Linked DNA regions of Homo sapiens: regions 2, 3, 4 and 5 are each linked to region 1. Evidence: promoter capture Hi-C in 16 types of primary human blood cells and fetal thymus (Javierre and others, 2016). All regions are on one chromosome and are shown on one strand. Each heading gives the region's core, a stretch centred on a gene start or on the middle of the fragment in contact. The rest is flanking DNA. Distances are from core to core; before and after follow the strand shown. Region 1 holds the start of CAMK1G (calcium/calmodulin dependent protein kinase IG). Region 2 holds the start of C1orf74 (chromosome 1 open reading frame 74). Region 3 overlaps TRAF3IP3 (TRAF3 interacting protein 3). Region 4 holds the start of IRF6 (interferon regulatory factor 6). Region 5 overlaps HSD11B1 (hydroxysteroid 11-beta dehydrogenase 1).

Region 1 (2,700 bases), core at 65-2,564:
TTAACTTCTAAGCTTCAATGGTCTCATCTATACTAAAGGGGAAATAATACATGCCACACCATCTGATGGGATCGTCCTAAAGATGATTAATTATAAACACATTATAAACTGTAAAGTGTGGTCCCCATATCAGGTATTACTAAGCACTCTGTGTTACGGCCTGTTTCAGAGGTGGGTCTCATCTTTGGTTCTGGTTAAGCTTGGGTCAGCAGGAATGACAGGGACCTTGTTCTGTCTTCAGCTTATGATCTGGAAAAGATCATCTTCTTACCTAAGGCGGAATCTGCTTGACTCTCTTGACCCTTCTCAGAGGCTTTCCTCATGATCAATTTATCTGACTCCAGAGCAAGAGGCTGGCCAGACAAGCACTGCAGCCAGACCAGCGTGAGCCCTGGCAGCCATCTCCGGGAGCCTCAGGGTTAATGTTTGTGCGTCAAAGTTACGTGGAGAGAAGGGGCCATGGTGTGGATGGGGGTGGTGGTGGTGGTGAATCCAGACCTCCTTTTAAGATCTTCACTTGAGAGGTAAACTAGGGAAGTTTAAAAACAGAAGGGAGGTAGACGCGCCCCTGGGGAAGGTGAAGGAAGCTGTCTTGTGACTGACAGCGATAGCTCGGCTGCGTTCTGCATCTTAACGCGGCTGAGGATAGGGAGCCTGAAGCCTGTCCACAGACTCCTCCAGGAGGGACTGAGGCTGACTCGTCTTCCTTAGGCTTGCAGAGCCACAGGCTGTTTACAAATCTTTTTGCCATTGGTTCTGCTAATCCTCCCAATAACCCAAAGAGGTCGGCAGAGAGGGCATACTTTATTTGATGGATGGGGTCAGAGAGGTTAAGAGATGAAGGTTGAGCAGGAGGGAGGGGTGCAAGAGAGTTGGAGGTCCTAACACCCCAGCAGATGGACGGGGTCCCTCTAGGCACAGAGCCTTGTCCCTAGAATGCAGGCATTGCAGGAGGGGCACATGAAGATATTTTTCTCCCTTTTCCCTGCCCAGAAGGGCAAAATGCTTCCATGAAAGCCAGCCCAGGAGTGACGGACAGATAGCTCCACCCGGACCCCCCATTCAGACTTATTTTCCAAGACAGCTATAACTCACCCTTGATGCCAAAAGAGTCAGGGAAGACTGGAACTGGGGCTGAAATAAATGCCCAAGTTGCTTACAAAGTGGCTCTTCAAATCCACTCACTAGGTGCTGCACGCTTCCCATTAAGCAAGGAGACCCTCTAAAGCCAAGAAAAGAAGCAGGGTTGTCTTACCCAGGGACTCGGGAAGAATCCTGCTTGAGCTCCCACTCCAGCTCCTACAGGTCTGTGAGGATTAGCTGCTCCAGTGCTTTAACAATAAACCCAATTAAAGGGGAGGAATGCAGGAGTTTTCTTTCCCAGGACCGTAACCACGCAGCCTTAAAGGGGAGTAAAAGTAGCTAGGGTGGCTTGCATCTCTCTTTCCTTTCCTCGGCTCTGCTCACCCTCCCTCCCAGCGTGCAGTAATGAGTCTTATCCAGAAAAATGCTTGTGCATTTTTGCCTGGTGTGTGTGTGTGTGAGTCTGTGTGCATGTGTATGTGAAATTGTGTTTGCATTGATGTGTGTGATGGAAAGACAGAACGGAAGAATGAAAAACAAAAACATCAAATTATAAGTTCCCATTATCCTGAATGGGTGATGACAGAAAAAAATCAGAGAAGCTTTCTAGGATTGTCTGCCTCAGTTTCCTTTTTAACCCCTCAGGTGCTGGTGTATGTTGTCTAAAAACACCTCCCTGAAAAACAGAACATCTACACTGGCTGACATGTAGGGACTGAAGACAGTGTCCACCTTGCTTGTTATCTCTTACAGAACTGGGAGAAAGGGCCTTGGATGTCCCAAAAGGGGCCCCTCAGTTGGACGGTCTCACTCAGTATCTTTGATATGTCTCTTTTCCTCCAGAAGCTCAGCATTCTGGTCCCCAAACCTGTCTCAGTCCTAACCTATGAGACCCCAGGAAATCATTCCCCTCCTCCGGAAACTCTGTGCTCCCTCTGTTTCCTGTACTCATCTCTCCAACCTGGCCCTTGACCAAGGCTTCACAGTCTCCATCTTAGCTTCTCTGGGGCAGTCCCTTTAGTGCAGATTTCTTTAAACTCTGTCATCTGCTCTCTTGTTTTCTCCTTCTCTACTCTCTCCTTAAGGTTACCATCTACTCACAGAGTCTATTACCATCTTCATAAGAATCTCCTCAGTCAACACCCCACCTGGGTTATCATGCTCAACCTCAACATCCAAATGCCCACTGTCACCTACAAACAAGGCTGAATGTGTTATGGCCACCCTCAAACCCACTCTCCTGTTTTCCCCAACTAGGCTAATGAGCTACCATCTTCCAAACACTCAACTGAGAAACTCCAGGGTTTGCTTTGTTTGTGTTGCCTGTTTAATTTGTCTTCCAAACCCATCCAGCTCTTATGCACTTCCATTTGTTCCTTGAAATTAGCTTTTAACTTGTACCATTTCTTTTGTGTCATCTTGTTTTTTGAATAAATAACATATTCATATTGGCAAGAAAATGACCATATTAAAAGGCATACATTGAGATGTGTTACCCCCTTCTACTCGTTATCTGTCCCTTGACCCTGACATTGCCCTCTATAGGTGACCACTTTTATTATGGTATTTCTTTATGCAAATACAAGCAAATATTCACCTCTATGATCTCAGTTCAGG
Region 2 (2,700 bases), core at 5-2,504, 200 kb before region 1:
GACTGCAAACTTGCTGAAGGTAGGGACTGTTTGTCTTGGACTTCGCTGCCAGTCCTTAGAACAGTGTCTGGGACACAGTGTGTTCTCAAATATTTGTTGCTGGAATAAATGAATGAACTAAATCAGTCTTTTAGGGATTTACTGTTAACCACCATGGGAAAATTAAATAAATGCGGGGAAGGAAAACGTTCTAAAATTAGAAGACTACTTTCTACTCTCAGCTTCTGATTCCCTCTGAGCTAAGAACCAGACAGCCTTAGGCTGGTAACTCCTATAAGCTGGTCCTCCTCCCATGCTGACCCCATCTTTACTGTACAATTCACTTTTCATGGACTGAAGGCACCACCAAGATAGATCCAGGAGTGACAACTCCAGTGTAGGTGTCCACTGTTCCCTTAATCTCTGTCCTGCTCCAAGTATAAATAAATTGGGGCCATTTCCTTAGATATTGGGGTTTTCTCAAGAAATCCTTTCCCTTCGTGGCATGGGTCAAATCGCTGGTAGTTAAAAAGGTGTTAACTCTTACGTGAAATAACACTTTTTCTTTGTAATGACCTGACTGGAAAGCCTCTGTGTCATCACTTCTCATTTCTTATTTGAAATCAGCAAACTGGATTCAGTAGACATGAACTTAAGCCCCATGAAAGTGGGGGTTTTGTCTGTTTTGCTCACTGCAGTACCTCCAGGGCCTAGCAGCATGACTGGCACATATTTGTTCAAAGTGAATACTCACACCTTCACACCCTCCCTAGAGAGCTGTTGTAGGCCTCTCAAATGTAGGATTTAGGGAAGTCAAGTTAAAAAAAATTAAAACGTTTCAGCACCACCCACAGGTGAGGCTATTCTGCAAAATATGTTGTCTTGAGGTATGTTTCGTCTGGACAAAACGTATTTCCACAGACACAAATCAAAGGTGTTTATTAACTGCTGTGTGCCCTGTTTCTGGATTCCCAGTCAAGTGGGACACCAGACGTCATAACACAGGGAGGACGTTCGGCGAAGCAAAATGAGGGCAGCAGCGGGAAACCAGTTTCACCAGGTTCCGCCTTTTCTCGTTTACTTCCGCCCTTCCCAGTTCCTAAGCCGACAGATGGGGCCGCGTTCAGTCTGGCCGGAAAGGGCGGGCCGCACGGTGGCCCAAACTTCCGGCGCGCAGTAAGGCTGCCTAGCTAGTGATTCTAACGCGAGGCGCGCGAGCGGCTGGATGACGTCACGGAATGGGGGGAAAGAGGGCGGCACTCGAGTGGGTGCGCATGCGCAAGAAGGTGCCTGCGGGACTGGAGCAGAGCGGGCTGCGAGGGTCTTCCCAGCGCAGGCGGGTTTTCCAGTGTTACTTGCGGCTGGGCGTGGGGGACTAGCTGCCTTTCTGGCAGCAGGCAGGAAGCCGCAAAAAGTTTCTGAGCCCCCGAACCTGTAGCGGACGTGGAAAAAGAACGTATGTGAGACAGACTTATGCCTCATTTAGCAAATCACTATAACATGCTCTGGTGTGGGGTGTGTGGATCGGAGAAATCTCATCTTCCGAGGGTCCTTGATGTCGGACAGAAAGGGAAGGCGGGGCCAGCAGAAGTTAAAATACTACCCTTCTGCAGTTCTAGTGGATTTCATTCATTCATTTTTATGTGTCAGGGTGAGATGGTTGTTAGTCCACATTCTGGTGTATATTAATCAAATTACTATTCTTATAACTATTCTCTGGCGGGAAGAGTAGGGGAGTTGTCAGTGGAAAGGATACATTTGGAACTTGGAGCTCTGTCCCAGAAGGGCTTTTGGGCGAAATGCTGTGAATTTTGCCAAACACTGCCCCGCCTCCGCCTCTGCCCCAAATTCCCTACGGTTTGAACCAGAGAACGTAATTTGCAACAGGTGAAATTTAGAATAAAAGCCAGAGGGAATATAAATCTAGCTATAAGGCTAGAAAAACACACGAATTTATGATTGAGGGAGACCAAGTCAACCAGAAAAATCAAGCAGCATCGGTGAAACTATCTTGTCTGGGCTGGGTCGCCATTTCAAAGCAGGGAGGGACAGAATAACCTTTGGAAGATACCGCGATTTAACAGGAAGGCTGTTAATAATTCCCTGCTCCTGCTTTGTTTCTAGGCCCCTCCTCAAGTGTCTGGCTGAAAGATGCCACCCAGGGAAGGGAACTCGGGCTAGCTAAGGAGGCCATTCTTGATGTTGCTTCTAGATCTCATGTCATCACCGAGCCCTCAGCTGCTGGTGGCAGCTGCTCAGCAGACCCTTGGCATGGGAAAGAGACGGAGTCCACCCCAAGCCATCTGCCTTCACTTAGCTGGAGAGGTGCTGGCTGTGGCCCGGGGACTGAAGCCAGCTGTGCTCTATGATTGCAACTGTGCAGGGGCATCAGAGCTCCAGAGCTATCTGGAGGAGCTGAAGGGGCTTGGCTTCCTGACTTTTGGACTTCACATCCTTGAGATTGGAGAAAACAGCCTGATTGTCAGTCCTGAGCATGTATGTCAGCACTTGGAGCAGGTGCTGCTTGGTACCATAGCCTTTGTGGATGTTTCCAGCTGCCAGCGTCACCCTTCTGTCTGCTCCCTGGACCAGCTTCAGGACTTGAAGGCCCTCGTGGCTGAGATCATCACACATTTGCAGGGGCTGCAGAGGGACTTATCTCTAGCAGTCTCCTACAGCAGGCTCCATTCCTCAGACTGGAATCTGTGTACTGTATTTGGG
Region 3 (2,700 bases), core at 100-2,599, 180 kb before region 1:
CGTCTCATGTGAGGGAGAGCAGAGAGTCAGGGATTTGGCATCTACAATAAGCAGAGGGCTTTGGGACCGATGGAAGACGTGGACAAAGACTTCTACTGTTTGAGCTTTGAAGTAACTGGTAAAACGGCTGCATTCCACTGTGGCCTGTTCATTGTCAATCCACAGGTCCTGAAATCAACTGGCTCTACACCTACCTCCTCTGGTTCACATCTTCGGTTCCACACATTTGCCTTTGCCCAAACTCTTTCTATGCAGAATGCAATCAAACCTACCAAATTTAAGGTTTATCTTGCTGTATTTTGGGAATATAGCAGGCCTAAGGCAATATTCTTAAAATTTTCCCAGTCTCCTACCCTTTTGGGGTACCTCCTCTCTCCCCATTCCATAGTATGGCTTTAATCCAATATTTTGCCTCTTTCAACTGTTTTTGTATTGGCCCAACCCCAAATTACTTTTCCATTCGTGTTGCAACGGAAGACAATTTACCATAGCCACTTCAGTGGGGATGAAGGGCCACCCAAGTCTGGAGCTTGAATGAAACCTCTTTCCACAGCTCTGCTTTTCTGGACTCCCCAAAACGTCATAAAAGTCGCAGCCAAGTTGTTGCAAATCGGGCATGTAGTTTCCTGGTCTGAGCCCCAGGGTCCCCCACACTGAAGCCCAGTGTTACAGTATGTGGGAAGAAGCACTTTTTACAGGCCTACTGCTGACATTCTAGGCAGTTAGACCCCGGGAGCCGAGGGCTCAGAGGGCATATAAACCCCAGTGAAGAGAGGAGCAAGGCGGAGGCCATACACACCTGGTGCCGGTCTGAGGTCTTCAGCTCCTGCTTCTGCGTGGTTTTCCCCTGCCTCTGATCTGCTCTCCAGAAACACCACCACCTCACCACAGAAGCACCAGCCCACAGCTCATCTCTCTGCTCTAGTAGAGGTTGCTTAGGGCTTCAGCCAATCCCCGCTGCGCTGTCATCTCAAGATCTTAATTCCAGGACGCAGATCTTCAAACCCAAGGCTGCCCTGCTCTCGTTTTTGTATTGCACAATATTGAAAGCTTGCTTTCTCTGCTAGTAGAGCTGTTTCTGCCCTGAAGGTTGGACCCTCCTCAGGAGTCTCAATAGTGCCCCAGAGCCTATGGTATCCAAAAGGCCCAGAGACATCCGGAGGTGAAGCCAGCGGAGGGAGCTGATCCTTGGGATTCTAATAGGGAGTTTGTGGTAAGTTCTCAGCATGTGAAGTTGGAAATTCAAATTTATGAAGGTCAAATGGCAAAAATAAAGGTCTGAACCAGTTCTGGCCACTTTCTTCCAATTATTTTTCCCAGATACCACAGTTTGGGGCTATACTTTTATTGGAGTTGAGGCTTTCATGGAAGAGATAGAGAGTTGAATTACCTTATTTTAGGGGAAACAATAGCTGTTAACTGAAAAAGTCTGAGACTGTTTTTCTTTAAAACTGGAAGCTAGGGGGTTGGTGGGGAGGAGGGACAAAGAAGAGAAGGGTGAGGATTGGGAGGGGTGAGAAGAAGGGAGGGAGGAAACCACAACCAAGGGAACTTCTGCTCTTGGGCTGGAGCATGGGGTGAAACTCCTCCTTGGAGACAAACCCAGAAATGTCTCTTAATATATCCCCCCTCATTCCCACAAAGCTTGCTTTGATTCAAGCTCTGGTTGTGTCTTACCTGGGATATTACAAGAGTCTCAACTCCCCCAACCCCTGCTTGGAGCCAGGGTTCTTATTGCTACAAGTTAGATAATCCTTGAACCCTCCCCCCTCTTTTTTTTTTTTCAAGACAGGGTCTTGCTCTGTTACCCCATGCAGGAGTACAGTGGTGCAGCCTGGACCTCCTGGGCTCAAGCGATCCTCCTGCCTCAGCCTCCCAAGTAGCTGTGACTATAGGTGTGTACCACCATGCATGGCTAATTTTTTTATTTTTAATAGAGATGAGGTCTCACTATGTTGCCCAGGCTGGTCTTGATCACTCAAGTGATCCTTCTGCCTTGGCCCCCCAAAGTGTTGGGATTACAGGTGTGAGACACTGCATCCAGTTGGAAATTACAGAACTTTTTAAGACACAGATCTGATCATTCACAAGTCATTTCCTCAGATAGTAATTGCATACCTTCTAAGGATGAGCCAGACATTGCTAAGTGTAGGACTTTATACCTCAATAAAGCATAGTTCCATTCTTACTCAGCTTATTACCTATAGCAGTGTTTCTCAAGCTGGGTAGCATGCATTCTAAAGGATCTCTGATTTTATATATATACATATATGGGTTTCCTTTAAAAATGGGTCCATGCATTATTCAAGTTTGAGATACCTTGTTCAACAGAAAAAGTTTAAGACCCATAATTCTAAAGACCTGTCTGAGATCCTTTCTTTGGTACTACTCTGGCATACCTTCATTTCAGCCATACTCTGCTATACCCAATTCTTTGCCATACATAGGCCTGTAATCATTCCAATTCCTTTACCTTAAACACTCTTCTACTTTCTGCTTTTTTCCCTCATCATCACTCTTGCTTCTCTACTGGTTAGCTCCTACTCATCCTTCAAGATTCAGCTAAAATGGTTTCTTTCCTTTATTTTTATTTTTTGAGACAGAATCTTGCTCCGTCACCCAGGCTGGAGTGCAGTGGCACAATCTCAGCTCACTGCAACCTCCACCTCCTGGGTTCAAGCAATTCTTGTGTCTCAGCCT
Region 4 (2,700 bases), core at 158-2,657, 220 kb before region 1:
TACTGTTGCACAGCCTCCTGCAAACCGGTCCTCTAGATAGATGAGGAAGGTGAGGGCAATCTCATCAAGCACCTGTTAGGGTACATGCAGGACTTGAATTTCAGGTAATAACAAGGAATGCCTTCTTGTTCTCTGACGCACTGTCTATATGGTATTTTTAATCTTTATGCCAATAATAATTGCAAGTACATATAAAGCACTTGATAAGTGCTAAATATTGTTGCAAGCAGTTTACATGTAGTTATTGAATTCCCACAATACCCCTGAGGTAGGTACTATTACTAACCTCTTTCTACAGATAAGACACCAGGGCCTAAAAAGCTTAAGAAACTTTCCCAAGTCTGTAGTAACTGATGGAGTTGGGGTCTAAACCCCAATAGTTGGCTCCAGAGGCTATGCTTTTACTCATTACACGATAGTGATCAGAGGAAGCAGGAACTCCAGTCTGGGCAACATAGTCAGACCCTGTCTCTAAAAAAAAAAAAAAAAAATTAGCCGGGCATGGTGACCCATGCCTATATTTCCAGTTACTTGGGAGGGTGAGGTGGGATAATTGCTTGAGCCCAGGAGGTTGAGCTATGATTGTGCCACTGCATTCTAGCCTGGATGACAGAGCCAGACCCTGCCTAAAAAAAAAAAAAAAAAAAAAAAAAGGAATTGAACTGGGTGCCAGTGCCTGTAATCCCAGCACTTTGCGAGGCTGAGGCGGATCCCTTGAGCCCAGGTGTTGCAGACCAGACTGTGTAACTTAATAGCAAGACCCCATCTCCAAAAAAAAAAAAAAAAAAAAAGGAAGAAAAAAGAAAGAGAAAAAAGCAAACAACAACAAAAAAGAAGGAAGGAATTATTATTCTCATTGAAGAGATGAGGAAACTGAAACCAAGAAGCCAAGAAGCTAAGTAACTTACCCAGGGTCACACGGGTAAGAGGCAGAGTAAAGGTAGAATTCTAGTCCTGAAAGCCTATGGCTTCTCCCAGACAGGACCAAGTGTCCTGGTTCTCTTCTTCATGTGCAACTCCACTTACACAGGCCCACGAGTAGTAGGGCCAACCCAGAATCTCAAAACCCTTATTTGTGCTTAACTGTCTGCATACTGCAGGGTAATTATGGGCCGTGAAGGAGGGAGGCACCCTCTCGACTTAGATCTGAACTCCCAGTCGCTTCCAGTTCCCAGGACCACCAGCCCTGAGCCGTAAGGCTAGGCCTGAATCTGGGACTTTCTTAGCCGGAGTTAGAAGCGGAGGAGTAGGGTGGGACGCTGGACGGACGCCGCTGGGCCGGGCAGCCCAGAAACGCGGAGTGTCATATTTCTTGCAACTCGCCAATCCCGAACGCCGGGGGGCGTGGCCACACCTGGGAGGCGTGGCCGGGCGGATGCGAAGGCTGCGGCGTCCTGGGGCGAGGCGCTGACGTGAGCTCGGCGCACCTGGGCTGGGCAGGTAAGGGCTGGTGCGGGACGGGGAGAGGAACCTGCAGTCCCTACTTGGGTAGAGCCAGGCGCCCCTTGGCTAAGACGTCGAGGAGCGTGGTAGCGACGGGTGATCTTCGCTGCGGACTTGGTTCGGAGGGACGTCCGCTTCTGGTGGACAGATTGAGCAAAGGTGGGTACGCCAACTTCTGGGGACCAGCTTGAGGGAGGAGAGGCTCCCCCGTGGGTGGGGTAGGACCCATCCCCGGAGTTTGTAGGGGGTGAGAGAACTTGCTTGGGGGCATCTGTGTGTTTGGGGTGGGTACCCACTGGGGCTGGGTGCCTGTCGCCCTTTTCCAGATAGCTTTGGGGCGGCCTCAGTTCTGTAGCGCTAGGCCCCTCTCGAATCTACACTTGTGTCTACTCTCCCTACCCCCACCGCCGAAGCGGAGGGCACTGCTCTCGGCCGTCAACAACCCCACTATCCGGTAGAGCTAAAGCACCGCGCCCCCTTCAGTCTTACCAACTTGCGGCTGGCCCCTGTGTCCCAGAGAGGGGACTTCCCAGGTCCGCAGGTCCTTGATCCTAGTGGGCGTTTTGGGAAACTGGAGTGAGGGTGGCCAGGAGCTTTGGAGCATTGGCGGTTTGTCTTCCCTCCCTGAGTCTGTTTGGCACAGTTAGGCCCTTCGCCCTGGGCCTGGGAGACAACCTTGGATTTCCAAGGAGCGGAGCTAGGTGCTGGGGAGGGTGGCGCTGGGGTGTGGTTGCTCTGGGGGTGGGCCCTCTTTGCCCGAAGGGGCTGGAGGGTGGTGTGGAGAATGGGGAAAGTCTCCCAGGCCTGACTTGGAAAGGAGGCCTGAGGTGTCACTCTTTACAGGGAGCCTGCTTTGTGGTAAAGGGGTCATCCTGTTCCAACCTGTTCTCTTGGTGGATGTCAAGAGTGGAAGTCAGGGAAAAGAGATGGATAGAGAGAGGAAGGCGCTTGGGTGGGATTGGTGAAAGCTGGTGTTGACCCAGGAGTGTGGTTTAGGATGAGACGTGTGTATGATGTATGACAGTGGCACTCAATACCTTGTAACTCCCATTCGCCATCCCCCAGCTTCCATCCAGCAGAAGGGAAGGGTGTGGGCATTTTGACTAGAGGCCTGCAGTTTACCCCTAAGCAGGGCTAAACAGGGAAGCCTGAGGAACGGAACTTAGACGATGGCATTTCATTTCTTTCAGGAGAAAGGGAAGAGCTGGGACTGCTAAGAATTGTCTGCGAGAAATGGCGTGTGTTTTAACCTGAGCA
Region 5 (2,700 bases), core at 151-2,650, 140 kb before region 1:
GGTTTCAATGTTGGGACACATCCTTAAAAGGAGAAGCCAGTCTCTCCTTCCCAATCCTTTGTCCTTCTTGGTGTCTGAAGGTGGATGTAATGGCTATGGCTCCAGACCTATCTTGGACCATGAGGTAGAAGCCACGTGTTGAGGATGGCAAAACATTTAGATAGTTTAGATAGAAGGAAGGAACCTGGGTGACCATGGAGCTGCCATACTATACTGGCCCTATACTGCCTACCTTCAGACCTGATTTAAATTTTAACTTACTTGTGTGTGTGTGTGTGTGTGTGTGTGTGTGTTTTCCGAGGCAGAGTCTTGCTCTGTTGCCCAGGCTGGAGTGCAATGGCATGATCTCGGCTCACTGCAACTTTTGCCTCCCAAGTTCTAGTGATTCTTCTGCCTCAACCTCCCGAGTAGCTGGGATTACAGGTTTGAGCTACCAAACCTGGCTAATTTTTGTATTTTTAGTAGAAACAGGGTTTCACCATGTTGGCCAGGCTGGTCTTGAACTCCTGATCTCAAGTGATCCACCTGCCTCGGCCTCCCAAAGTATTGGGATTACAGGCATGAGCCACTATGCCTGGCCTAAATGCTAACTTATTGAATCCACTATTATTTTAGGTTTTCTGTATCTGAGAGCTGGACTTACTTCTTATTGATAGTTATCCTCACTTCTATGCAGCCCATGTGCCAAAAGAAAGCTGACATCATTCCTAACTGCAGGTATGAGCTTATGTAATCTATTTTATCCCATTCTTCTTACTCATGATTGATACAGGAATGGCCATGTGGCTCATTTTGGACCAATGAGATTTGAAGAAAATTTTGTTGGAGTGTCTCAAAAAGTTATTGTTTTTCTGGAAGAGTTTCTGAGAGTAGCAATCCTCTTTTTCTTCCAACACATTTTTTGTGCATTGATATGGGGGCTGGAATTGCTGCAGCTATCTCATTGTCAGCCTGAGGATGAAGCCACACATGGAAGAGAGCAGAGCCAAGAGAATCACGGGGACACTGAGCTTCAGCCAAGTCAACTGTGAAGCCTGCCCTACATCTGGACTTCCAGTTATGTCAATAATTTTCCTTATTGTTTGAGACAAAAATAGATCCACATTACTTATCAGAATAGCATAATAATTAAAAGTATGAGCTCTAGAGTCAGATGACCCAGGTGTGAATCCCAAGTATGCCAATTCTTAGCTGTAATATGTGGATAATAATATAACCAAGCTGAAGTAACCCATGTAATATACTTAGCACAAACTCTGGCACATAGAAAGCATTCAGAAAATGCTATTATTGTTAGCAGTATTAGTATTCAAATTGGTGAGAAAAGTATGAGCTATTCAAAAAATCATGTTGGGACAAATAGCTAGTTACTTGGAGAAAAAAGTGCCATTCTAATAAACAAATTCAAATTAGATCACAGAGTATATGTGGAAAGTAAAAAACTAAAATAAGCTATTGGTGAATTTCTAATCTCAAAGTTAGAGATACTTTTTAAAGCATGAAATTGGAGGCATATACTATGAAGGAAGACATAAATAGGTTGGAATATATAAAATGTGAAAAGCTACAGTGTACTAGAAATGCTTGCCATGGACTTCCTGCCCTCATCCCCTTCAAAGAGCCTTTATCTTTCTAGCCATGGAAGGTTGGCCCAGTTATCACGAATATGCACACTGGCTTGAACACACATCGTGGTCTCTCTTTCAATAAATTGAAATAAGTGACCAAAAGATTCTGATTGCTGCTGTTGGATTTTGAATGAAAAGGTCATGTAAGGTTGGGACTGGGGTAGCCATTTCAGCCATGGAGAGGGATAAGTAAGCGGAGACAAGTATTCTGCAAAAATAAGCAAGCATATGGAGCAAACACAATAACCTCTGAAATTGAGCTAAATAGGAACTAACATTTATTTAGCTCTTATGTGCCAGTGTAGAATCTAAAGGATAAATGCTCAAAGTTTCAAGGTTAATGAGTGGGAGAAGCAGGATTCAAACCAGGATTCAAATTTGACTCTAGTGGCCCACACTCTTGAACACTAGGTGGTACTTCCTCTACAGAAGGCACTGTTCTTTATATGAGTGTTTTCCAGGAGCCATGTGTTAAATCCAGTTCTTTCTGCATTGGTGAGGATTCTCTCTCTTTTGATAGTCGAGTCCAAAATAGGCAAAATTTATGAATAGCAGTATTATTTTCACTTCTAAGCTGACAGATGAGGATACCCATAAATAAACAGGGCTAGTCACTCCTAGTCCCTTTGTATTCATTTCCCTGGGCTGCCATAACAAATTACCACAAACTTGGTAGCGTAAGACTACAGAAATGTGTTCTCTTACAGAACTGGAATCCAGAAGTCCAAAACCAAGTTATCAGCACAGCCATGCTCCCCCCAAAACCTATAGCAGGGAATCCTTCTTTTTTCTCTTCTAGCTTCTAATGTCTGCTGGCAGTTGGAGCTGAGTTGTGCTGGCAACTCCAGTCTCTGCCTCCATCTTCACATCACTTTCTTCTCTTCTGTCTGTGTCTTTTACTCTTCATATAAGGTTACTTGTCATTGGATTCAGGGCCTCTCAGATAATCGGGAATGATTTCATCTTGAGATCTTAGTTACATCCTCAAGGACTTTCTATGTGTCCACTTAAGGTCACGTTCACAGGATCTAGGTGGATATATCTTTTGGGGGAGGACCACCATTCAGCCCAC

What was found. Contacts are between HindIII fragments. The CHiCAGO score rates a contact against its expected background, and 5 or more counts as called.
Region 2: a contact is called between the fragment with the promoter of C1orf74 here and the fragment with the promoter of CAMK1G in region 1, in 8 of 17 cell types (neutrophils, non-activated CD4 T cells, total CD4 T cells and 5 more). The highest score is 11.9, in neutrophils.
Region 3: a fragment that was not itself captured here is called in contact with the fragment with the promoter of CAMK1G in region 1 in 1 of 17 cell types (neutrophils); the score reaches 7.6 in neutrophils.
Region 4: the fragment with the promoter of IRF6 here is called in contact with the fragment with the promoter of CAMK1G in region 1 in 5 of 17 cell types (neutrophils, naive CD4 T cells, non-activated CD4 T cells and 2 more); the score reaches 10.1 in neutrophils.
Region 5: a fragment that was not itself captured here is called in contact with the fragment with the promoter of CAMK1G in region 1 in 2 of 17 cell types (neutrophils and monocytes); the score reaches 13.4 in neutrophils.

What each region holds. Positions count from the first base shown.
Region 1 is chr1:209,582,328-209,585,027 of GRCh38, reverse strand. CAMK1G (calcium/calmodulin dependent protein kinase IG) reads right to left here and starts at 1,314. Exons shown (of 13, transcript NM_020439.3): 1 at 1,256-1,314. The region is part of intron 1 of LOC107985256 (a long non-coding RNA gene); the gene reads left to right. The HindIII fragment of the contact is 1,486 bases long and covers 202-1,687 here.
Region 2 is chr1:209,783,113-209,785,812 of GRCh38, reverse strand. C1orf74 (chromosome 1 open reading frame 74) reads left to right here and starts at 1,254. Exons shown (of 2, transcript NM_152485.4): 1 at 1,254-1,435; 2 at 2,104-2,700. The coding sequence starts at 2,179. It overlaps IRF6 (interferon regulatory factor 6), which reads left to right. Exons shown (of 9, transcript NM_006147.4): 9 at 1-196. RefSeq lists enhancers at 316-931, 1,116-1,375, 932-1,549. The HindIII fragment of the contact is 4,418 bases long and covers 1-2,700 here.
Region 3 is chr1:209,766,760-209,769,459 of GRCh38, reverse strand. The region is part of intron 8 of TRAF3IP3 (TRAF3 interacting protein 3); the gene reads right to left. Among named protein-coding and RNA genes, the nearest start is that of TRAF3IP3, 12 kb to the right of the region's middle. RefSeq lists enhancers at 1-4, 15-64. The HindIII fragment of the contact is 594 bases long and covers 1,053-1,646 here.
Region 4 is chr1:209,804,849-209,807,548 of GRCh38, reverse strand. IRF6 (interferon regulatory factor 6) reads left to right here and starts at 1,407. Exons shown (of 9, transcript NM_006147.4): 1 at 1,407-1,602. RefSeq lists a silencer at 1,142-1,485. The HindIII fragment of the contact is 4,987 bases long and covers 324-2,700 here.
Region 5 is chr1:209,726,957-209,729,656 of GRCh38, reverse strand. All of the region lies in intron 4 of HSD11B1 (hydroxysteroid 11-beta dehydrogenase 1), which reads right to left. All of the region lies in intron 1 of HSD11B1-AS1 (HSD11B1 antisense RNA 1), which reads left to right. Among named protein-coding and RNA genes, the nearest start is that of HSD11B1-AS1, 14 kb to the left of the region's middle. The HindIII fragment of the contact is 5,210 bases long and covers 1-2,700 here.